6 separate regions of the Homo sapiens genome follow, and all the other regions are linked to region 2. Evidence: promoter capture Hi-C in 16 types of primary human blood cells and fetal thymus (Javierre and others, 2016). All regions are on one chromosome and are shown on one strand. Each heading gives the region's core, a stretch centred on a gene start or on the middle of the fragment in contact. The rest is flanking DNA. Distances are from core to core; before and after follow the strand shown.

The links. Contacts are between HindIII fragments. The CHiCAGO score rates a contact against its expected background, and 5 or more counts as called.
Region 1: the fragment with the promoter of ZNF607 here is called in contact with the fragment with the promoter of ZNF420 in region 2 in 1 of 17 cell types (M2 macrophages); the score reaches 6.2 in M2 macrophages.
Region 3: a fragment that was not itself captured here is called in contact with the fragment with the promoter of ZNF420 in region 2 in 3 of 17 cell types (fetal thymus, naive CD4 T cells and M0 macrophages); the score reaches 6.3 in fetal thymus.
Region 4: the fragment with the promoter of LINC00665 here is called in contact with the fragment with the promoter of ZNF420 in region 2 in 4 of 17 cell types (total CD4 T cells, total CD8 T cells, M0 macrophages and 1 more); the score reaches 7.3 in total CD4 T cells.
Region 5: the fragment with the promoter of ZFP14 here is called in contact with the fragment with the promoter of ZNF420 in region 2 in 13 of 17 cell types (fetal thymus, naive CD8 T cells, total CD8 T cells and 10 more); the score reaches 16.0 in fetal thymus.
Region 6: a fragment that was not itself captured here is called in contact with the fragment with the promoter of ZNF420 in region 2 in 2 of 17 cell types (activated CD4 T cells and naive CD4 T cells); the score reaches 6.6 in activated CD4 T cells.

The regions. Positions count from the first base shown.
Region 1 is chr19:37,717,567-37,721,588 of GRCh38, reverse strand. ZNF607 (zinc finger protein 607) reads left to right here and starts at 1,828. Exons shown (of 5, transcript NM_032689.5): 1 at 1,828-2,320. RefSeq lists silencers at 2,067-2,176, 2,237-2,326. The HindIII fragment of the contact is 3,190 bases long and covers 1-2,548 here.
Region 2 is chr19:37,075,771-37,079,785 of GRCh38, reverse strand. It overlaps ZNF420 (zinc finger protein 420), which reads right to left and starts at 1,353. Exons shown (of 5, transcript NM_144689.5): 1 at 1,216-1,353. It overlaps LOC105372390 (a long non-coding RNA gene), which reads left to right and starts at 1,589. Exons shown (of 2, transcript XR_001754095.2): 1 at 1,589-1,688; 2 at 3,481-4,015. RefSeq lists an enhancer at 1,278-1,517 and a silencer at 1,608-1,897. The HindIII fragment of the contact is 14,557 bases long and covers 1-4,015 here.
Region 3 is chr19:36,234,338-36,237,851 of GRCh38, reverse strand. ZNF146 (zinc finger protein 146) reads right to left here. Exons shown (of 4, transcript NM_007145.3): 4 at 1-2,193. The coding sequence starts at 1,411. The coding sequence ends at 533. LOC107985304 (a long non-coding RNA gene) reads left to right here and starts at 2,100. Exons shown (of 2, transcript XR_001753933.3): 1 at 2,100-2,268. It also overlaps a transcript of ZNF565 not described here. RefSeq lists a silencer at 1,278-1,478 and an enhancer at 3,276-3,514. The HindIII fragment of the contact is 221 bases long and covers 1,204-1,424 here.
Region 4 is chr19:36,329,210-36,333,067 of GRCh38, reverse strand. LINC00665 (long intergenic non-protein coding RNA 665) reads left to right here and starts at 1,350. Exons shown (of 6, transcript NR_038279.1): 1 at 1,350-1,621; 2 at 2,576-2,815. The HindIII fragment of the contact is 13,687 bases long and covers 1,113-3,858 here.
Region 5 is chr19:36,377,072-36,380,945 of GRCh38, reverse strand. It overlaps ZFP14 (ZFP14 zinc finger protein), which reads left to right and starts at 1,745. Exons shown (of 5, transcript NM_020917.3): 1 at 1,745-1,783. RefSeq lists a silencer at 1,549-1,638. The HindIII fragment of the contact is 12,200 bases long and covers 1-3,874 here.
Region 6 is chr19:36,412,503-36,416,080 of GRCh38, reverse strand. All of the region lies in intron 1 of ZFP82 (ZFP82 zinc finger protein), which reads left to right. Among named protein-coding and RNA genes, the nearest start is that of ZFP82, 4.4 kb to the left of the region's middle. The HindIII fragment of the contact is 3,525 bases long and covers 1-3,470 here.

The DNA.
Region 1 (4,022 bases), core at 579-3,078, 640 kb before region 2:
TTTTTTGATGTTGTTGCTTGTGATTCTGATGTCACGGTTAAGAAACAATTGCTGACTATAAAGTCCAGAAGATTTATGCCTACATTTCCTTCTAAATGTTCTACTGTTTTAAGTCTTACACCTAGGTGTTTGATCCATTTTGAGTTGATTTTGTATATGGTGAGAGGCAGGGAACTCAATTCATTCCTTTCTATGTGCATCTCTAATTCCAGTCTTTTCAACAAAGACTACTCTTCCCTTCCTTAAAATGCCTTGGTATCCTTGTTGAAAATAGTATGTGGAGCCGGGCGCAGTAGCTCATGCCTATAATCCCAGCACTTTGGGAGGCCAAGGCGGGCAGATCATCTGAGGTTGGGAGTTCGAGACCAGCCTGACCAACATGGTAAAACCCTGTCTCTACTAAAAATACAAAATTAGCTGGGCATGGTGATGCATGCCTGTAATTCCAGCTACTCAGGAGGCTGAGGCAGGAAAATCGCTTGAACCTGGGAGGTGGAGGTTGCAGTGAGCCAAGATCGTGCCATTGCACTCCAGCCTGGGCAACTAGAGCAAAACTCCGTCTCAAAAAGAGAAAAAAGAAAAAGAAAATAATATGTGGAGTCAATTTAATCCATTGATCTATGTGTGGTATTTCTGAGAGATTATTCAGGAGATTCAGGAGCAACAAATCCAAGAACTAATTAAGAGAAGAAAAAGTGATCAATAAGTTCTTAAATTGTAACTTTAATAGTTTTTTTTCCTTGACTATTTGTATTTTTGAATGGTGATTTTTTAGTTTTGTTCCTTTTCCTCTTAGGGTATAGACAAATATTTTTTATTTTTAAATTAATTTTACTTATTTATTTTTTGAGACAAGGTCTTGCTCTGTTGCTCAGGCCAGAGTGCGGTGACACCATCATACCTCACTGAAGCCTGAACTTCCGGGCTCAACTGATCCTCCTACCTTTGTCTTTGGAATAGCTGGGCCCACAGGCGTGTGCCACCACACCAGGCTAACTTTCATTTTTGGTAGAGTTTGGGAGGAGGAGAGGGGTGTCTCACTATGTTTCTTAGGCTGGTTTTGAACTTCTGGCCTCAACTGATCCTCCTGCCTTGGCCTCCGAAAATGCTGGGATTAAAGGCGTGAGCCACCGTGCCCAGCCTGTATTCATCAATATTTTATTAAGCCAAAGAAACAGGAAATTCGGACTATTAAATATTTGTCCGTTTTAGCTGTTGTAAATATTTCCCCCAAATTTACTTACCTAAAAATTTTTCTTATTCGTTTTTTACCATTTGGAAATTTTGGATGCTTCTAAATAACTATGAAGATTTACAAAGTATTACATGAAGGATCAAAAAAATTTTTTAAATTTCTTATTTTATCTTCAAGAAGCCTATTCCAGAACAAAAATAATAAAACTATTTAGCAGTTATTTCTTCAGATGATTTTTTAGTCAAATTTTTAGTCAAATATATTCGTGTCCAAAGATGAAGAACATAATGTCATGTATTGAAGAATGTGATGGAACTTCAAACCCTCATATAGGACGTGAGTCCATTTACTTAGCGCTTGACGAGACAAGCTGGGCCTGTCGGGTGGTATTAAAAGTCCCAGTCCCATGTGTTACCAAGGAGGCCGGCTCTACCTCAGGAGCCATGAGGGTTTCGGCGCCCCACCCTGAGGAGCTCACACCCATCCAGCAGGTGATCCCTTCCGAGGCTACCTGGATCAGTTTCTACTCAGACTCGCCTCCTACTGGCCCTAAGAACGCACTAACTCCACCCTAAGCCTCAGGCCAGGGGCCCAGTAGTGGCCGATCTGCGCATGCGCACTCGAGGCAAGGCGGCCACTCCCAGAAGTCTCCGGGGCTCGAGCGGTGGGTGGGAGGCGCGGTCCAAGTGGTCGCTGCCGTATTTCTCGTAGGTTTTTAGGATTCTGGACTCCATTTCTCACCGGTACCTGCGGTCCTGACTGTTCTGGCTTGGACTACATATTACAAAGGCAACGGAGAAAACTTGGACCCCTGGCTCCGGTTCCGGGACCTTTTGGTTCCACCTGAAGAAGGCGGCGCAGGTCACTGCGGGAGCCTCTGCAGCCCCAGCCCGCCGCCCGCGTGGTACCCTGCGTGGCGGTGAGAGTGGGGCTGCAGGAGGCGCTCAGAGCGCGGAGGCCCCCAGGCGGGCCGGGCGAGTCTCCCGCCTCCTCAGGCCCTAGGGTGCTGGAGCTGCGGAGGAGGGGCCCGTCTCTAGGAGACAGGCGGGGAGCGTGAGAGACCGCGCAGCGGCGACAGGACCGGCTTGCCTGTGTGACGTGGGTGCAGTTGCGGGACTGTGAGGGGTGCGTAGTCGACCTTGTGTGACCTGTACATGCCGTGTGTGTCCTTTGTAAAGCGTGCTTCGCTGGGCTCTGTGGGGTCTATTGACCCTTGGCTCCAGGTTCCCTGCTGCTTCCTGTGCCTTCCTCAGCCTAGTACGACTACAACAGAGAAATGGTCCCAATGGGAAATCAGATACTGAGTCTTAGATGAAGATTTCCAGTGAGAAGAAACAGATAGGATGAGAAGCTTAGAAGAGTAATTGCCCTTAAGAAAGGTATGATAGATTCTGTTAAATAAAAAAGTATTCAGTGACACTTGTTAAAGCATGCAAAGAACCCTTTATTCAGGACCATGGTGGTAGGTATTGGGATCCCGGCTGTGAGATTTTGCAGTGGGTAACAGACATTGGGCTCAACTCCGAATTCAGCATGAACAAGTGGGAATTTATAGCCAAGAAGGTTAGGGATCACTGGATGAGAAATTACTAAGAGGAAATGTCTGGGTTAAGGAAGATTCTGACTAAACGCACCTAACAGGATTATTTCTGGAGAGAGAGACCTGGGGGACGGTGGAGGATGAAGATACGGAGGCGAAAGGGTCTTGCTAAACTGACTTAGAATAGTTCTTTGCTATAGCCAGATTTTACAGTGAAGTGTACAGATGGGCCTAGCTGAAGGTGTAGTAGCCTGACTAAAATTTGGTCTGGCAGGGTTTGTCAGTTTCGAGTGTAGGATTCCCTCCTGAAAAGGGTTGTTACTCCGCCCCCACCTCCCGGTTCTTGGAGTTTCATTTACATGTTTAACAAACACGGCCTTGAATTCTGACCCCAAGAACCTGCAGTGAAGGATGATTGCAGGTTCCATCCAACATACTTCCTTCTGGTCGTGTGTATGAAATTACGCGCCTGCAGCCTTGGAGGGGGGAAACATAAGCGCTAAGTATTATGAGGCAATTTTGGATATTCCGTTTTGGATTTCTGTAGATCAAAAGCAACAAGAATATGAACTTAGCCGTGATGTGAAGGAAGTGAGCCAGAATTTAAGTTTTCCAAAATAGGAATTCTCGGTCATTGGTGTACTGTCTGTAGACCAATGCCCTTATGGGCATAAGGGACATCACAAACCCCCTGAAATTCTATAAAGAATTCCTGTACATGTTTGTTAATTTGCATTTTTCTAGGATGTCCATAATCCAAATTATTTAGACTCAGGTTTTAGATCTGGAATCAAAGAGTTTTATACCTTTGAATGGTTTTGCAGAAAACTAATGAACGAGATTATGGGAATGGTTAAGAAAATTATACAGCGTCCAAGGGATTGGATATTATACAAATAATAAGATTTATGTTTGTAAAGAATCTGTCACAGGATAAATAGCTGTGATCTAATGTTTAACACTATTTAGAGTTACAGTGGTGGATCACAGTTCTCAAACTATATATGCAACTCTTTTTCTTTCTTTTTTTTTTTTTTTTTTTTTTTTGAGACTGAGTTCCGCTCTTGTTGCCCAGGCTGGAGTGCAATGGTGCGATCTCTGCTCACTGCAACCTCCGCCTCCCGGGTTCAAGCGATTCTCCTGCCTCAGCCACCTGAGTAGCTGAGATTACAAGCATGGGCCACCATGCCTGGCTATTTTTTTTTTTTTTTTGTATTTTTAGTAGAGACGGGGTTTCTCCATGTGGGTCAGGCTGGTCTTGAACTCCCAACCTCAGGTGATCCACCC
Region 2 (4,015 bases), core at 104-2,603:
TGCCTCCCAAAGCGCTGGGATTACAGATGTGAGCCACCGCGCACAGCATCCAGTGGCTGTCTTGAAGGTATTATCAGCCCTAAAATTCTCATCCTAAGACCAGGTCTGTAACTTGCAAATAACTCCTATTCATCACTCAGGTGTCCAAATGTCTGACTTCCTTACTTCTTGCCACTTCCCTGCACCCAATCCCCTTAAGGCTATAAGGCAAGAGGACGCAGGGAAGAAGTCGTGAACTCGTAAGTAACTACATTTCCCAAGGTGAACCGAGGATGGATACAGAAATGAAGCAATACAGGCCATGGATGAAAGGGCAGCCACTGTGGTCAAATCAAAAAGTCCTTAAGTCCTCAGAGCCACATGGGAGGAGCACAGAGCCACATGGGACTCACAATCCATAGGCAGACCTCAGCCCCAAATGAACCCCAGAAATACCAAAAAGAAATTTACTTCTGTACTGGACTAAACCCCCATAAGGTCACAGAATATACAAATGGCCACATAAAGTCACACATAATCACATTTCCACAGTTACACAGCTAGAGGCACAATCACCCAATTATGCTACATTGTTAGACCACCTTGTCTCAAACAAAATCCCATTAAGTACAAGGCATATAATTACATCCAAGCACCTTGTCAGAGACACATACCGCCAAAAACACCCTTTCAAAGCTGCAATTTTAGTCTCTTTACACAGTCATGAAAACAGCACACACAACCCCACAGTCACACACAATCAGACAGTCACCCAACCCAGTACGAAATCAGGGAAACACGCGGTAATAAACACCGTGTCACAGCAACACTGTCACACACCTTAAATTTACTGGCAAATCCATCCCACGATATCAGGTTTACACACAACCTCAAAGTGACACAAGAACATCCAAACACTCTTGTCACAACTGTCACACACTTCATAGTCACAGGCAAACCCCAATTATACACGCGGCACACATAAAATCACAGTCACATAAGTATATCCCAGCCAGGTAAGCAAACAGTCACAAACACCCTCAGAGTCACAACTCACACTCATACAAATGCTCATACACAAAACCACAGCCACACACGTCCAGTCGTGTATGCACAGGCAGTCGCCAATACCAGGCAGGCTGTAGCCTGCACACAAAACCGGAGACACGGCCACACGAGTAACCCCAGCGACGCTTTCTCCGCGCGTGTCCGCTCCGGCATCCCGGACACTCCTACCTTGACAGAGGTGCAGTTCAGGGTCCAAGATCTGGCTCCCGGGTTCCAAGCCCAATTTCGGGTTCGCCAGCCCAGCAGGTGCGGAGCCAAGCTCCTCCACAGACGCGGCCCTCTCCCCACGCGAGGCCTCCAAATCTCGCAAACTAACGGAAATGAAGCTACGCTCCGGGAGCGGTGCCTCTGGGAAATGTAGTCCAGCGCTCCGGACGCCGTGCCTCTGGGAAATGTAGTCCAGCGCTTGGCTAGCCGGCCAGAACGCCAGGAGGCCCGGGCCGCTCACCCCTCGAGGGGCTCGTGGGCTCGGCCTGTGGAACCTGCTTGTCCCGCCTGCAGCGCCCCGGAGGTTTCTGGGAGTGCCCGCCCGCCCGCGCTCAGTGCGCAGGCGTCAGACGCTCAGGGCCTGCGAGAGCGAGCTGAGTGGTCCCAGGGTCTACCCCTGGCAGGAGAGAGGGTGGGACCCGCCGGCCAGGCAGGTGCGGGGGAGGAGCTGGGGCCGGTGCGGGGACCCGCCGGAACCTCGGATTTGCAGAGGACCCTGTGTGTGCCCTCCCAGGCCCTTGGGGTGTGTGTGACAATGGGAGATGCCAGGTGGACTGAGAGTCTTTCCGTGGCCGGGTGTGTATGGTTGTGTTTCTGCCTGTGTGTGATTCTTCCTGCTGTGGGGTGTGAGGTGATTTGTACTTTAAGCTGCGTAGTAATGGGATTTTATAACTGTGTAGAATCGTCTAACAGAGTAAGACGATTTTACACAGATCTCTATTGTGGTTTGCTTATGAAGGGTATCTGTATGTATATCTGCTTTTTTGTGTGTGGCCGTAATTGAGTAACTGGTGATCTGTGTTATATAAACGTGCTTTCTTTGTGCTTGTATTTCAGTGTCTGTAAGGGTGCCAAGAGCAAATGAGCTGTGTGTGATCGTGTGTGACAGTGAAAATACTATGGCCAAGTTATTTCTTCCTTAAATAGTAATGTAATAATCTGGAAAAGATAATCAATTTATCTGACAAGTAATTTAGACATCATTTTTCTATTGGATCAAATATATGTGTTATCGGGAAGAATCCAAAATTAACGTAGTTTTTTCTTTGTTTTTAGAAAGATTATTTCAAAACCAGTCCTAGGGTAACTGCCTTTTCCTCTGCCACAGCAGGCCAAAAGTAGATATCCATTATTTTCTAATTAGAGGGTAAAGTTTCTCTTATTACTGGGTACGGTTGAGAGGCCATCAACTAATAAAATAATAAAACAACGTTATACATAAGAAGAGTGAATTTTAGCACAGTACAGCACTAGTCAGATTTCCCAAATTCTAGGTCAAACACTTGTCCTCATTTTCTGATGAGAAAACCTTGGCCGGCAGAAAGTAACTTAAGGCTGTAGAGTTTGTTGGTAAACCTGAACTTATTTTTACTTACTTCAAGACCTCTTGGCCTTTTATGATTTTTGAATAATCAAAAACTTGTGAACTTCCAGCACAGAGAAGATAGAGTATAATTTCACCACTCCTTCAGAGGGAAAAAAATTAATAAAACTTGGTCTTGCAAGACCATATATCAAATACATTGATCTCTTACCGGTAATGTGACTGGAATAGCAAATTTGGTGATCAGAATTCTTGAGGGAATGAACCTGTGTGTGTGATCAGGCATAGCTATGTGAAATATAGATAATTAAATTGCACTGAGTTAGAGTGGGTCAAAGTCAGGCAAGAATTATGTCCAATTCACATGCACACGTATGTTTATTGCGGCACTATTCACGATAGCAAAGACTTGGAACCAACCCAAATGTCCATCAATGATAGACTGGATTAAGAAAATGTGGCACATATACATCATGGAATACTATGCAGCCATAAAAAAGGATGAGTTCATGTCCTTTATAGGGACATGGATAAAGCTGGAAACCATCATTCTTAGCAAACTATCGCAAGGACAGAAAACCAAACACCACATGTTCTCACTCATAGGTGGGAATTGAACAATGAGAACACTTGGACACAGGGTAAGGAACATCACACACTGGGGCCTGTCAGGGAGTGGGGGTAGGGGGAGGGGTAGCATTAGGAGATATATCTAATGTAAATGATGAGTTAACAGGTGCAGCACACCAACATGGCACATGTATACATATGTAACAAACCTGCACGTTGTGCACATGTACCCTAGAACTTAAAGTATAATAAATAAATAAAAATAAAAATAAAAAAGAATTATGTCCAATTATATATGGGAGATATATACTGGGTTTTGTTTTTTTTTTTAGGAGGTGACAGACACATTCTGGTTTCAAATTGAACAGCATGCATTGATCTTGAGCCGCATCTGTGTGATTCTGGGTCACTACTTTTGGCTTTTGAATAGTTACGATGAGTGCTTGCAAGAAAAAGGAAGCTATCACTTAAAAGTAAAAAACAGTTGTTCACCTGAGATGAATAGATTCCATGTGGATGGGCTTCTTGTATATTAAACTTATGACATTTTATATGTGTTGATATGTGATTTTTTTAAAAAAAGTATAGGCAGCTTTTCAGATTCACAAAGAGGTACTTTAAGCTAAAAAAGGTTAAGACCATCAGAAACGTAGACTGCAGGAACTGAGAAGGATTTGTTAGAATACTATGTGATATAATTAGTATAAAAATAGTATATATTTTATAGAGGGATACACACAAAACTCCTGCTAATGGTAACCTTTAGGGAGAGAAGAGAGGATTTAGGGTAAAGGGGGAGAAGTAAATGTCAAAGGGAACTTAAGCATTATAGGTCATTTCTCTCCCTCTCTCTCTGTTTTTGTTTGT
Region 3 (3,514 bases), core at 65-2,564, 840 kb after region 2:
CAAACTACCTCCACTTAAAAAAAATAGTTCCATTATTTCCTCATTTCCTGATGCCACTTGTATCATATTCCAAATTCTAATAAATGCATAGGTCTTTTTTTGAAATCTCTTCTGCTCTGCTCAATCAATACCACAGGAGTCTTAATATTAGTTGTAGATGACCATGTCATCTATTTTTGTCTGTTCCTTTCCAATATTTACAACTTAATTTTTCTTGTTACTGGCGAAGATCTCCAGATCTATGGTGGTAGCAATAAAAAACAGGCCTCCATTTTCTGTTCCCACTTTTAGTGAAAATGTGCCTAAACTTTCACCATTATCTCTGCTGCAGGTTTCTCTGTTGGACACAGGGTTTTAATCATATGCATGTCTTTCTCTTCAGTACAAATTTTCTGGTGTCCCTTAAGTTTTTAGTACTTGTTAAAGTTAACCTCATTCGTGGTGCTTTGCTTCAGAAGGATTATTTCTGGGGCATGATGAGGTGCAAATTTCTAATGAAAGCTTTCCCACTTTCAAGGCTTTCATGGGGTTTTTAGTGAGTATGAATTTTCTGGTGTCTAATGTGGTGTGACTTCTGGCTGAAAGCTTTCCCACATTCACTGCACTGATAAGGCTTCTTACCTGTGTGTATTCTCAAATGCAGAGCAAGGGTTGAGAACTGAGAGAAAGCTTTCCCACATTCATTACAACCATAGGGCTTCTCCCCTGTATGGCTTCTCACATGCACAGTGAGAGATGAGCTCTGAGAGAAGGCTTTTCCACAAACATTGCATTCGTAAGGTTTATCACCTGAATGAATCCTCACATGTACAATAAGTGATGTTCGCTGAGAGAAGGCTTTTCCACATTCGTTACATTCATAGGGTTTCTCTCCAGTGTGAATGTTCTGATGTTTTATGAGGTACTTCTTCTGGCCAAAGGCTGTTCCACATTCACTACATTTAAAAGGCTTCTCTCCAATATGGATTTTCTCATGCTCAGTAAGGTTGGATTTGCCACTGAAGGTTTTTCCACACTCCTTACATACAAAGGGCTTCTCTCCTGTGTGAGTTCTCTGGTGTCTGATGAGGTTTGACTTCTGAATGAAAGCTTTCCCGCAATCTTTACACTCAAAAGGTTTTTCTCCAGTGTGAATTTTCTGGTGCGTAAGGAGGTTTTCCTTCTGGCTAAATGATTTTCCACATTCATTACATTCGAAAAGCTTCTCGCCAGTATGGGTGTTCTGATGTTTAATGACATACTGCTTTTGGCTAAAGGCTTTTCCACACTCGTTACATTCAAAAGGTTTCTCTCTCGTGTGAAAATGCTCATGCTCAGTGAGGTTTGATTTGTGGCTGAAGACTTTTCCACATACCTTACAGGCAAAGGGGTTTTCCCCACTGTAAATTCTCTGCTGGCTGAGGTGTGACATCTGAATGGAAGCTTTCCCACATTCACAAGGTTTCTCTCCAGTAAAAATTTCTTGATGAGTGAGGATTTACTTTTGGCTGAAGATATTTCCACATCTCTTACATTTATAAGGCTTCTCTGTGTATGATCTCCCAAATGCAGAGTAAGGGATAAGGTTTGAGAGGAAATGTTATCATACTCAGTATATTCAATGCTTTCTCTCTAGAAAAATTTTCTAATATTCAATGAAGTATTGCTACCTTCACTAGTTTCTCTCCAGCATGAATTTTCTGCTTCTCAATGAGATTGTCATCTAGCTAAGGGCTTGTCAATACTCCTTAGAAGCACAGGGTTTCTCTTCAGCATGACTTGCACGTTCGACGAAATGCAACATATGAGTAACAGTTCCCCCACATTCAGTAAATTCATAGGGTTTCTCTCCAGTATGAACACTCTGGTAACAGATGAGGTACAAACGTTTTAAACCAAAGACATTTACACTTAAAGGGGGTTAATACCATAAGGAGTAAGCTGTGGTAGAGAAGCTCCCAACTAAGTCCCTTGATGATTCTTTCCTACACAACCTCCCTCATGATTTCAGTCCAGGTTGTGTTTCAAACTGAAAACTTCAAAAAGGTGTGGCCTTAAAACAAATACGATCTGAGAACAGAGGAAGTATTTTTTCTTATATTCAACGCTCTTTTTCTCAGTCTTTCCTGGAGATGGATCAACATGCCTCCCAAGTCCTGGTGCCTCTCAAGTCCTGGTGCCTCTCTATCTGTGCATCATCTTCTCAGGCTTCTTCTAAAATGGAGTACAAAGAACCATAGCACAAAGGAGTTAAATTCATAAAGTGCCCAGAACCATGGCTGCCATATGGTAAGCCCTTCATTTTACCTTTATATTACTATCACTTTTATTTGTTAATTTTCCCATTACTAGCAATAAAATTTTTTGAGATTAACTCTGGTAGCCCATCTCCCAATATGAAAATAATCTATATTATTAATGCTTCCAACTAAATTATGAGAAGGGAACCCTACTTGAGGTGATCTAGGTAGAAAATTAACATTCATGGGTCCACAAAGCTGAAAGTACTCTTGAAAAATAACCTTTCCATTTCAGAATTTAGCAAGTTGTATAACAAATAATGAAGAATTGCCAAATAGAAGAAAAAGATGAAAATTAGAAAGTCTACCTGGGATGCTAAGGAAGAAAAATAATGTTCATCTTTCTTTCTTCTTTTTTTTTTTTTGAGACGGAATTTCGCTCGTTATCCAGGCTGGAGTGCAGTGGTGCGATCTCGGCTCACTGCAGCCTCCGCCTCCTGGGTTCAAGCAATTCTCTAGCCTCAGCCTCCTGAGTAACTGGGATTACAGGTGTGCACCACCATACCTGGCTAAATAATGCTCATCTTTCTAAGAAAAGGAATAGATCAACCAACAAGTGCTTCCTCCCAAAACCCCATTAAAATTATAAGGAGAAAATGGTACAAATTCCCTTATTCAAAAGGAATAAAGGATGGTGGCTGAAAAAAAAGTGTAAGGAACAGTTGAACATGCACTGTCCAGTCACGAGAACAAAGGACTGGACACACCTTCATATGAAATGGAAGTTTATCCCCTGCAGAATTTTAATCAGAGCTCAGGGGCATTCAGCAAATGAGATGACAGGAATGAGCTGCTATACGGAAATCAGAGATTAAACCCACATATATGGTAAGACCTGCAGCACCATTCTGCAGCTGAAGACAAAAGATGCTGGCTGGCCGGGCGCAGTGGCTCACGCCTGTAATCCCAGCACGTTGGGAGGCCGAGGTGGGCGGATCACGAGGTCAGGAGATCAAGACCATCCTGGCTAACACAGTGAAACCCCATCTCTACTAAAAATACAAAAAATTAGCCGGGCGTGGTGGCGAGCAACCAGATGCAAAGCTTGAACCCTGATTACATTCTGTAATTTTAAAAAACTATGGAAGGCATTCTGGGGACAATTGGAAAAATGTGAACATAGACTGGGTAGTCTAATATTAGGACAACATGGTTAATCTTCTAAGGTGTGAAACGGTATTTTGTTATATGGGAGAGCTCCCTTTTTTTTTGAGACAGTCTTGCTCTGTCGCCCA
Region 4 (3,858 bases), core at 101-2,600, 750 kb after region 2:
TTGTTCTGTACTAAGAAAAATTCTTCTGCCTTGAGATGCTGTTAATCTGTAACCCTAGCCCCAACCCTGTGCTCACAGAGACATGTGCTGTGTTGACTCAAGGTTCAATGGATTTAGGGCTATGCTTTGTTAAAAAAGTGCTTGAAGATAATATGCTTGTTAAAAGTCATCACCATTCTCTAATCTCAAGTACCCAGGGACACAATACACTGCGGAAGGCCGCAGGGACCTCTGTCTAGGAAAGCCAGGTATTGTCCAAGATTTCTCCCCATGTGATAGCCTGAGATATGGCCTCATGGGAAGGGTAAGACCTGACTGTCCCCCAGCCCGACATCCCCCAGCCCGACACCCGAAAAGGGTCTGTGCTGAGGAGGATTAGTAAAAGAGGAAGGCCTCTTTGCAGTTGAGGTAAGAGGAAGGCATCTGTCTCCTGCTCGTCCCTGGGCAATAGAATGTCTTGGTGTAAAACCCGATTGTATGTTCTACTTACTGAGATAGGAGAAAACATCCTTAGGGCTGGAGGTGAGACACGCTGGCGGCAATACTGCTCTTTAATGCACCGAGATGTTTGTATAAGTGCACATCAAGGCACAGCACCTTTCCTTAAACTTATTTATGACACAGAGACCTTTGTTCACGTTTTCCTGCTGACCCTCTCCCCACTATTACCCTATTGGCCTGCCACATCCCCCTCTCCGAGATGGTAGAGATAATGATCAATAAATACTGAGGGAACTCAGAGACCAGTGTCCCTGTAGGTCCTCCGTGTGCTGAGCGCCGGTCCCTTGGGCTCACTTTTCTTTCTCTATACTTTGTCTCTGTGTCTCTTTCTTTTCTCAGTCTCTCGTTCCACCTGACGAGAAATACCCACAGGTGTGGAGGGGCAGGCCACCCCTTCAATAATTTACTAGCCTGTTCGCTGACAACAAGACTGGTGGTGCAGAAGGTTGGGTCTTGGTGTTCACCGGGTGGCAGGCATGGGCCAGGTGGGAGGGTCTCCAGCGCCTGGTGCAAATCTCCAAGAAAGTGCAGGAAACAGCACCAAGGGTGATTGTAAATTTTGATTTGGCGCGGCAGGTAGCCATTCCAGCGCAAAAATGCGCAGGAAAGCTTTTGCTGTGCTTGTAGGCAGGTAGGCCCCAAGCACTTCTTATTGGCTAATGTGGAGGGAACCTGCACATCCATTGGCTGAAATCTCCGTCTATTTGAGGCTGACTGAGCGCGTTCCTTTCTTCTGTGTTGCCTGGAAACGGACTGTCTGCCTAGTAACATCTGATCACGTTTCCCATTGGCCGCCGTTTCCGGAAGCCCGCCCTCCCATTTCCGGAAGCCTGGCGCAAGGTTGGTCTGCAGGTGGCCTCCAGGTGCAAAGTGGGAAGTGTGAGTCCTCAGTCTTGGGCTATTCGGCCACGTGCCTGCCGGACATGGGACGCTGGAGGGTCAGCAGCGTGGAGTCCTGGCCTTTTGCGTCCACGGGTGGGAAATTGGCCATTGCCACGGCGGGAACTGGGACTCAGGCTGCCCCCCGGCCGTTTCTCATCCGTCCACCGGACTCGTGGGCGCTCGCACTGGCGCTGATGTAGTTTCCTGACCTCTGACCCGTATTGTCTCCAGATTAAAGGTAAAAACGGGGCTTTTTCAGCCCACTCGGGTAAAACGCCTTTTGATTTCTAGGCAGGTGTTTTGTTGCACGCCTGGGAGGGAGTGACCCGCAGGTTGAGGTTTATTAAAATACATTCCTGGTTTATGTTATGTTTATAATAAAGCACCCCAACCTTTACAAAATCTCACTTTTTGCCAGTTGTATTATTTAGTGGACTGTCTCTGATAAGGACAGCCAGTTAAAATGGAATTTTGTTGTTGCTAATTAAACCAATTTTTAGTTTTGGTGTTTGTCCTAATAGCAACAACTTCTCAGGCTTTATAAAACCATATTTCTTGGGGGAAATTTCTGTGTAAGGCACAGCGAGTTAGTTTGGAATTGTTTTAAAGGAAGTAAGTTCCTGGTTTTGATATCTTAGTAGTGTAATGCCCAACCTGGTTTTTACTAACCCTGTTTTTAGACTCTCCCTTTCCTTAAATCACCTAGCCTTGTTTCCACCTGAATTGACTCTCCCTTAGCTAAGAGCGCCAGATGGACTCCATCTTGGCTCTTTCACTGGCAGCCCCTTCCTCAAGGACTTAACTTGTGCAAGCTGACTCCCAGCACATCCAAGAATGCAATTAACTGTTAAGATACTGTGGCAAGCTATATCCGCAGTTCCGAGGAATTCATCCGATTGATTATGCCCAAAAGCCCCGCGTCTATCACCTTGTAATAATCTTAAAGCCCCTGCACCTGGAACTATTAACTTTCCTGTAACCATTTATCCTTTTAACTTTTTTGCTTACTTTATTTCTGTAAAATTGTTTTAACTAGACCTCCCCTCCCCTTTCTAAACCAAAGTATAAAAGAAGATCTAGCCCCTTCTTCAGAGCGGAGAGAATTTTGAGCATTAGCCATCTCTTGGCGGCCAGCTAAATAAATGGACTTTTAATTTGTCTCAAAGTGTGGCGTTTTCTCTAACTCGCTCAGGTACGACATTTGGAGGCCCCAGCGAGAAACGTCACCGGGAGAAACGTCACCGGGCGAGAGCCGGGCCCGCTGTGTGCTCCCCCGGAAGGACAGCCAGCTTGTAGGGGGGAGTGCCACCTGAAAAAAAAATTTCCAGGTCCCCAAAGGGTGACCGTCTTCCGGAGGACAGCGGATCGACTACCATGTGGGTGCCCACAAAAATTCCACCTCTGAGTCCTCAACTGCTGACCCCGGGGTCAGGTAGGTCAGATTTGACTTTGGTTCTGGCAGAGGGAAGCGACCCTGATGAGGGTGTCCCTCTTTTGACTCTGCCCATTTCTCTAGGATGCTAGAGGGTAGAGCCCTGGTTTTCTGTTAGACGCCTCTGTGTCTCTGTCTGGGAGGGAAGTGGCCCTGACAGGGGCCATCCCTTGAGTCAGTCCACATCCCAGGATGCTGGGGGACTGAGTCCTGGTTTCTGGCAGACTGGTCTCTCTCTCTCTCTTTTTCTATCTCTAATCTTTCCTTGTTCAGGTTTCTTGGAGAATCTCTGGGAAAGAAAAAAGAAAAACTGTTATAAACTCTGTGTGAATGGTGAATGAATGGGGGAGGACAAGGGCTTGCGCTTGTCCTCCAGTTTGTAGCTCCACGGCGAAAGCTACGGAGTTCAAGTGGGCCCTCACCTGCGGTTCCGTGGCGACCTCATAAGGCTTAAGGCAGCATCCGGCATAGCTCGATCCGAGCCGGGGGTTTATACCGGCCTGTCAATGCTAAGAGGAGCCCAAGTCCCCTAAGGGGGAGCGGCCAGGCGGGCATCTGACTGATCCCATCACGGGACCCCCTCCCCTTGTTTGTCTAAAAAAAAAAAAAGAAGAAACTGTCATAACTGTTTACATGCCCTAGGGTCAACTGTTTGTTTTATGTTTATTGTTCTGTTCGGTGTCTATTGTCTTGTTTAGTGGTTGTCAAGGTTTTGCATGTCAGGACGTCGATATTGCCCAAGACGTCTGGGTAAGAACTTCTGCAAGGTCCTTAGTGCTGATTTTTTGTCACAGGAGGTTAAATTTCTCATCAATCATTTAGGCTGGCCACCACAGTCCTGTCTTTTCTGCCAGAAGCAAGTCAGGTGTTGTTACGGGAATGAGTGTAAAAAAACATTCGCCTGATTGGGATTTCTGGCACCATGATGGTTGTATTTAGATTGTCATACCCCACATCCAGGTTGATTGGACCTCCTCTAAACTAAACTGGTGGTGGGTTCAAAACAGCCACCCTGCAGATTTCCTTGCTCACCTCTTTGGTCA
Region 5 (3,874 bases), core at 496-2,995, 700 kb after region 2:
AAAACTTAGTCAAAACAGAGAATATGGAGGAGCTATTTTAATAATTCTTTTTATTGTTTTTTTAATGGAGTGTTGATTTCCTTACATAAATTTAATTGTAAACATGTACATAGGACCGTGATTTTGAATTAAAAAAATACTTTGGGCCTTCGGCCTTCTTAGTAGTTTTTTTTGTTTTGTTTTGTTTTCGTTTTTGTTTTGATACGGCGTCTTGCTCTGTCGCCCAGGCTGGAGTGCAGCTGCACGATCTTGGCTCACTGCAACCTCCGTCTCCCTGGTTCAAGCGATTCTTCTGCCTCAGCCTCCCGAGTAGCTGGGACTACAGGTGTGCGTCACCATGCCCAGCTAAATTTTTTTGTATTTTTAGTAGAGACGGGGTTTCACCATGTTGGCCAGGCTGGTCTCAAACCCCTGACCTCAGGTGATCCACCCGCCTCGGCCCCCCGAAAGTGATGGGATTATAGGCGTCAGCCACCGCGTCTGGCCACCTTCTTAGTAGTTATAAAGTAGCTCAGATTTTTCATTTATCTCCTATTTCATGCATATCCTATTGTTTGCAAAATGAAACCAGATTGCCGAGGCATTTTCAAATATCTTCTAAAGTTTTATATTCTTAAGGAAAGAACAAATTCTTTCATGTATTAACTAATATATCAAAGAATTTGGGATACAGAAGATGCCTCAGGGTGGTCCCTGGTGGGCTTATCCCATTTCTTTCCTGAAGGAACGCAGGACAGGACAAATTCAGTCTCATTGGAGACAGACCTCTCCAGTTAGTCTTTTTCTTTTGAAACGGAGTTTCGCTCTTGTTGCCCAAGCTGGGGTGCAATGGCGGATCTCAGCTCAATGCAACCTCCGCTTCCCGGGTTCAAGCGATTTTCCTGCCTCAGCCTCCTGAGTAGCTGGGATTACAGGCGCGCGCGACCACGCCCGGCTAATTTTTTGTATTTTTAGTAGAACAATACATTCACAACTGCAGGAGATACGAGACACACACACACACACACACACACACACACACACACACACACACAGAGACAGAGACAGAGTGGGAGAAAGGGAGAGGGCAGTGAGCACGAGCGACCTTTCTAGGTTTACGTCCTGCTCCAGGTTCTGGTGGGCTTTGAGAGTATTTTCATTGCATGCCTGATGTGTGCCCACACCTTGCTTGGGTGTATGCAGTGAGTAACTGGTAGGTGTTTAGTACACATATTAGGCATCTGCTGGTGCCAAAACTTCTTTCTAAATCCTCCGCGGCTGAGCCTGGTGGCTCACGCCTGTAGTCCCAGCACTTTGGGAGGCTCAGGCGGGAGGATCTTTTAAGCCCAGGAGTTCGACACCGGCTTGGGTAACATAGGGAGATCTGGTCTCTATAAAAACTTAAAAAATGAGTTGGGCGTGGTGGCGCGCGCCTGCAGTCCCAGCTACTCTGGAGGCTCGGGTGGGAGGGTCGCTTGAGCCCGGGAGGTCGCGGCTGCAGTGAGCTCTAATCACGCCACTGCACTCCAGCCTGGGCGACAGAGTAAGACCCTGTCTCAAGAAAATAAACAAATAAAAGTCTTCCTCAGCGACAAAAGCAAACGCAAGCCCGAGCTCGCCTCAGCCCCACGCAGCGCGGAGGGCCTTCCCGCCCCGAGCGCACCCGGGGCTCCGGCCCCCGCGCATGCGCACTCCGCGCAGCCCGTTGGGGCTGGAACCAGTCCCTCCCATCGGCGGACTACATTTCCCACAGGCCTCCGCTCGCAGTTCTTTCCGGCTTCGCTGCTGGTGTCGGCTCCGAGAGGTGAGTTGGTCGCTTGCACCGAGGCAATGGGCGCGGGGGTGGCGCGGGGGCGGCGCAGACCTCAGTGTGAGCCAGGAGGCAGTAGCTGTGGAGTTTGTGGCGCTGACTGGGCGCCGGGTGCCCTGTTGCGTCCTCTGCCTTCTCGCTTCAGAGCCGCCCAGGTCCAGCGGCCCGGAATGGCTCCGAGTTAGATACAGGAACCCCGGAGTGAATGAAGGCCCCCAAACAAAAAGACGCAGTCTGAAGAACTGCAGATTGCACAGCTTTACCCGAGCTCCCTCCCATGGAAACTGCGGGGAACTCGGAGACAGATCCCAGCCCCGTCTTCGTGTACCTGGCCTTTCGCTCTGATACGGGAAAGGGTCAGCTTTATTCCAGGCTCCCTGTTATTTCCATCGGGTTTTGCGCGCAGTAGACGGAGGGAGCAAGTGCGCTAGCGGGGGTGTGTCCTGCTCAGCCAAGGCCGGCTCCAGGAAAGGCCCGCGGTCTCAAGATTCCCGTCTCCTTTCCCAATCCTGCTGTTCTTTAGGAAGGCAGCGGGGAGAGGAGGAAATGATTGCTGTTGCATATAGACAAGTCAACATCCAGATGAGTTTGTGTTTCCGTTTTGTTCCATGAAGTGTAATTTTTATTTTTTCTGGGCGTGGGGGCATTTGCTTTCCTCTTCTGTGGAATGAAAATCAGCTCGGACTGAACAATGAAGCAGCTCTGTCATTAATCAGGCTAGGAAGGAAGAGACAGATAAAGCCAGTTGCAAAATTAATAGAAAACATGATTTCTCCCCAGGTGGTGCAGTAGTTGTAAAATGGCATAATGACTCCCTCTTTGAGAGATTACAGTTTTCTTACCAGTGATGTTCTAGACTTGCTTTGCTGTTTTCATTTTATTACTGGGGATACCCTCTTGATTACACTCATGATTGCATTCAATATCTCATTAATCCCTGCCTCTCCTAATCTCACCTCGGAAACAGCAGCCATTCCAGATTGCAGCTGTCATTAGATCCTCCTTAGAATCTTTCAGCTGGAACTCAACCGTTTACGAAAGAGCTTTTCTCGTCTCTCTCGTCCATTCTATTCCAACCCTTCCTGTGGAATTTTCTCCCTTTCTGCCAGTCAATAGATATGATTTTGTCAGACTATGCGGGCTTGTTCCAGTTAATCTTCAGCTAGTTAGACTTTAACCCCTGAAATGTCCTGTCCACTGACCTGGTGCTTTGGCCTTCCTTCCCAGTGAATGATGGGGTGATGAAGGTAGATTCCAATTCCTACCCCTTTCCAGTAGGTTTGTTTTGTTTTGTTTTTTTTTGTATTTTTTGAGATGGAGTCTGGGTCTGTTACCCAGGCTGGAGTGCAGTGGCACGATGTGCTCACTGAAACCTCCGCCTCCCGGGTTCAAGCAGGATTCTCCTGCTTCAGCCTGCCAAGTAGCTAGAACTACAGGGATGAGCCACCGCACCCGGCCTCCAGTAGGTATTGACATGAGCATTTGGCAGTAATTTAGTTTCTCTTATGAGCTGCCTCTTTCTAATCATTTGGATGGTCTGGAAGTAAACCTCCTGAAGAGAAGCTAACTGCAGAGCTTTATTTTGTTACTTAAGTTTTTTTTTTTTTTTTAGAGACAGGGTCTCACTCTGTCCCTCAGGCTGGAGTGCAGTGAAGTGATCTCGCTCCCTGCAGCCTGGACCTCCCTGGCTCAAGCGATCCTTCCACCTCAGCCTCTTGAGTAGCTGAGACCACAGGCACGTGGTCCCACGCGCAATTTTTAAATTTTTTTGTAGAAATGAGGTCTCCTTATGTTGCACAGGCTGATCTTGAACTCCTGGAGTCAAGGAATTCTTCCACCTCAGCCTCCCAAAGTGTTGAGATTACAGGCGTGAGCCACCACGTAGAACTTTCATTCGATGGTGATTAGTTGAGGAGTTTACAGTTTAGATGGAATTACCCACTAGGTCTCTTTGATCCCCACCGCCCTGAGTTCAAAAGCAGGGAAAGGAGGTGGTTTGATTGGCGACAGGATCTTTTCTGCTTTTGAGGCTTTTAAGGAGTGACAATACGATGGGGTTTTTAGTGGAGAGGTCTGTGTTAACAA
Region 6 (3,578 bases), core at 459-2,958, 660 kb after region 2:
AATCATGTATGAATCGCTCTTAATAAGCTAGAGATTTATAAAACATTTTGCAAGGATTATACATAATATAAAACTAGTTTCTTAGTGGAGAAAAAAAGATAAACTGTTGTTTACCACACTGTTCTGTCTGCTTTGGTATACTTTTACTGAATTTAGGAATGTCGCTTGATTGTGTTCATTCATAGAAGAATCTTGAGAGTGAAAATAGCCCATCGTTTTGATGAAGAACAGTTAAAGAACTGATGGGTGTTACTTATTTGTGCCACACTGTTGTTTATTTTCCCAAAACCCACTCATGTCACAGGCTTATAGAATCACAATTTTCTTAACAACTAAAAGATATTCCTTCTTCACAACTCTGTTTTTAATTCTATGTGTATGAAAATAGTTTAATTGGCTGGGCGCAGTGGCTCACGCCTGTAATCTCAACACTTGGGAGGCTGAGGTGGGCAGATCACCTGAGGTCAGAAGTTTGAGACCAACCTGGCCAATATGGTAAAACCTGTCTCTACTAAAAATAGAAAAATTAGCTGGGCACAGTGGCGCCTGCCTGTAATCCCAGCTATTTGGGAGGCTGAGGCAGAAGAATTGCTTGAACCCATGAGGCAGAGGTTGCAGTGAGCCGAGATCCTGCCATTACACTCCAGCCTGGGTGACAGAGTGAGACTCAGTCTCCAAAAAAAAAAGAAAGTCCTGGTTTAAGCTGCCAACTATATTTAGTACTATTCAGAACAGATTTTCTCCATCCCCTACCACCCAGTCATCTTCACTCTATAAGAATAAAATTTAAGTTGCCCGTAGTCTCACCATCCACAATAAATATTACTATTCTAATGTTTGCTTTTCCATTTTTTTCTGTGCACTTGTGCACATGTGTTTGTTTTCCAAAATAGAATCACAACAATTGATCATTTAAGGAGACAAAGACTCTGCAACACTTTGTTTGAAAAAGGAAAAAGAGGTTGGGCCTGGTGGCTCACGCCTGTAATTCCAGCACTTTGGGAGGCCAAGGTGGGCGGATCACCTGAGGTCAGGAGTTCCAGACCAGCCTGACTAACATGGTGAAACCCTGTCTCTACTAAAAATACAAAATTAGCCAGGCGTGGTGGTGCATGCCTGTAATCCCAGCTGCTTGGGAGGCTGAGGCATGAGGACCACTTGAACCCGGAAGGTGGAGGTTGCAGTGAGCCGAGATCTTGCCATTGCATTCCAGCCCGGGCAACAGGAGCGAAACTGTCTCAAAAAAAAAAAAAAAGTATTTAATATGATACCTTATCAAAGCAAAATTCTTGAGCTGGTTTTATGATATGGAATGGTGTCCCTTTGGAGCTACTAGGGATGGAAAGTAACAGGGGCCTTGCTCTACTTTTTGATTTCTGTGAATCCTTTTTTGATAACATTATTAAGAAGAATTACATAGGCCAGGTGCGGTGGCTCATCTCTATAATCCCAAGACTTTGGGAGGCCGAGGCAGGCAGATCACGAGGTCAGGAGATCGAGACCATCCTGGCCAACATGGTGAAACCCTGTCTGTACTAAAATACAAAAAATCAGCCGGGTGTGGTGGCATGCTCCTGCAGTCCCAGTTACTTGGGAGGCTGAGGCAGGGGAATCACTTGAACCCGGGAGGCAGAGATTGCAGTGAGCTGAGATCATGCCACTGCATTCCAGCCTGGCGACAGAGCAAGATTGTGTCTCAAAAAAAAAAAAAAAAAAGTAGAATTACATTTTCAAGCCTAGTTCTAACATTTATCAATGTTTTAAGAGCAATGCTGAAAAATCTCAAAAATCTCAAAAATCCCTTTAGAGAAAGGGACTGCTATTGAAATTGTTAAAGATAATTTATCAGCAAATACCAAATTTTTAAATTGAAAATTATTGAAGCCAGTGTGGTGGCTAACGCCTGTAATCCCAGCACTTTGGGAGGCCAAGGCGGGCGGATCACGAGGTCAGGAGATCGAGACTATGTTGGCTAACATGGTGAAACCCCGTCTCTACTAAAAATACAAAAAATTAGCCGGGCGTGGTGGCGGGCACCTGTAGTCCCAGCTACTCGGGAGGCTGAGGCAGACGATTGGCCTGAACCCGGGAGGTGGAACTTGCAGTGAGCCGAGATCTTGCCACTGCACTCCAGCCTGGGTAACAGAGCGAGACTGCATCTCAAAAAAAAAAAAAAAAAATTATTGAAGATAATTTTTAAAATAGTGGAATGAGGGGTATGTGATGTTTTTCACTGAATTTAGTGCTTACAGTAAGCCATTTTAAGTGCTTTATGTATTATGTTCTTAACCTTCACAACAACCCTATAAGGTAGGTACTGTTTATTCCTTAGTTTATATCTGAGGAAACTGAGACACTGAAAATTAATGCGTCCAAATTCTCACAGTTAATAATTCTCAGAGCTCTGTTCATATCCTGAATCTTGATAACAAAGCCTGTATTTTTAATAACTGAGAGTCTGCCACCTCCCAACATTGTACATATTCTTTTAGTCTGACTCCCATAGCTAGTAATTTATCATGAATATCTTCCTTCTTTAATTAATGTGGGCCAATGCCATCATTAATAATTGCATAATGTGCTATAATATAGTAGAACATCATTTATTCAACTTGTTGCCTACTGTTAGGTATTTGATTTCAGGTTGTCGTAAATTATTCTTTTTTTTTTGAGACAGAATCTCACTCTGTTGCCCACGCTGAAGTGCAGTGGTGCAATCTCAGCTCACTGCAACCTCCGCCTCCCAGATTCAAGTGATTCTCCTGCCTCAGCCTCCCAAGTAGCTGGGATTACAGGTGTCTGCCACCACGCCCAGCTTATTTTTGTATTATTGGTAGAGATGGAGTTTCGTCATGTTGGCGAGGCTAGTCTCAAACTGCTGACCTCAAGTGATCTGCCCACCTCGGCCTCCCAAAGTGTTGGTTACAGGCATGAGCCACTATGCCTGGCCAATAAATTATTCTTTGATGAACTCTCTTGCAATACATCTTTGTATACTTTTACAAATATTTCCTAACGATAAATTCCTAAAAGTGGAATTTCTGGGTTGAATTATGAGACATTTATAAAGTACTCACAATATGCCAGATCCTGTGCCAGTCCTTGGGGGAAATACAGTGACCAAAATGACATGGTTGATATCCTTACATTGTTTGTTGTCTTTCAAGGTAGATAAGCCTATGCAAGAATAACACTGAGATAGGTGAGGTAAAGTCATTGAAGAATTCAGGTGGCATGGCTTGAGAGGTCATGGGAAGCAGACAGCTGATTGTAGCAAGCATTGTCAGGTCACGACCAAATAATACCAAACTCATGGGGTTCCTGTGGGGTAATGGATTTTATGTAATAAGCATGTGCCTTATAGTTTTTATTTTCATGATGTTGATGCAAATGAACAGCACAAGAAGATTCAGCAGCTCCTAGGTGGGCCTCATGGCTAAAACAACTCTTTCAGAAACAAAACAAAAGCTTGGTCAAGAAGTCATGAGAAGTAGCAGCAGTGAAACAAGGCATTAATTGAAGATGTTTAGCCATGTTTATATAGGCAGAACTCTGACATACATGAACACACTTAGAAA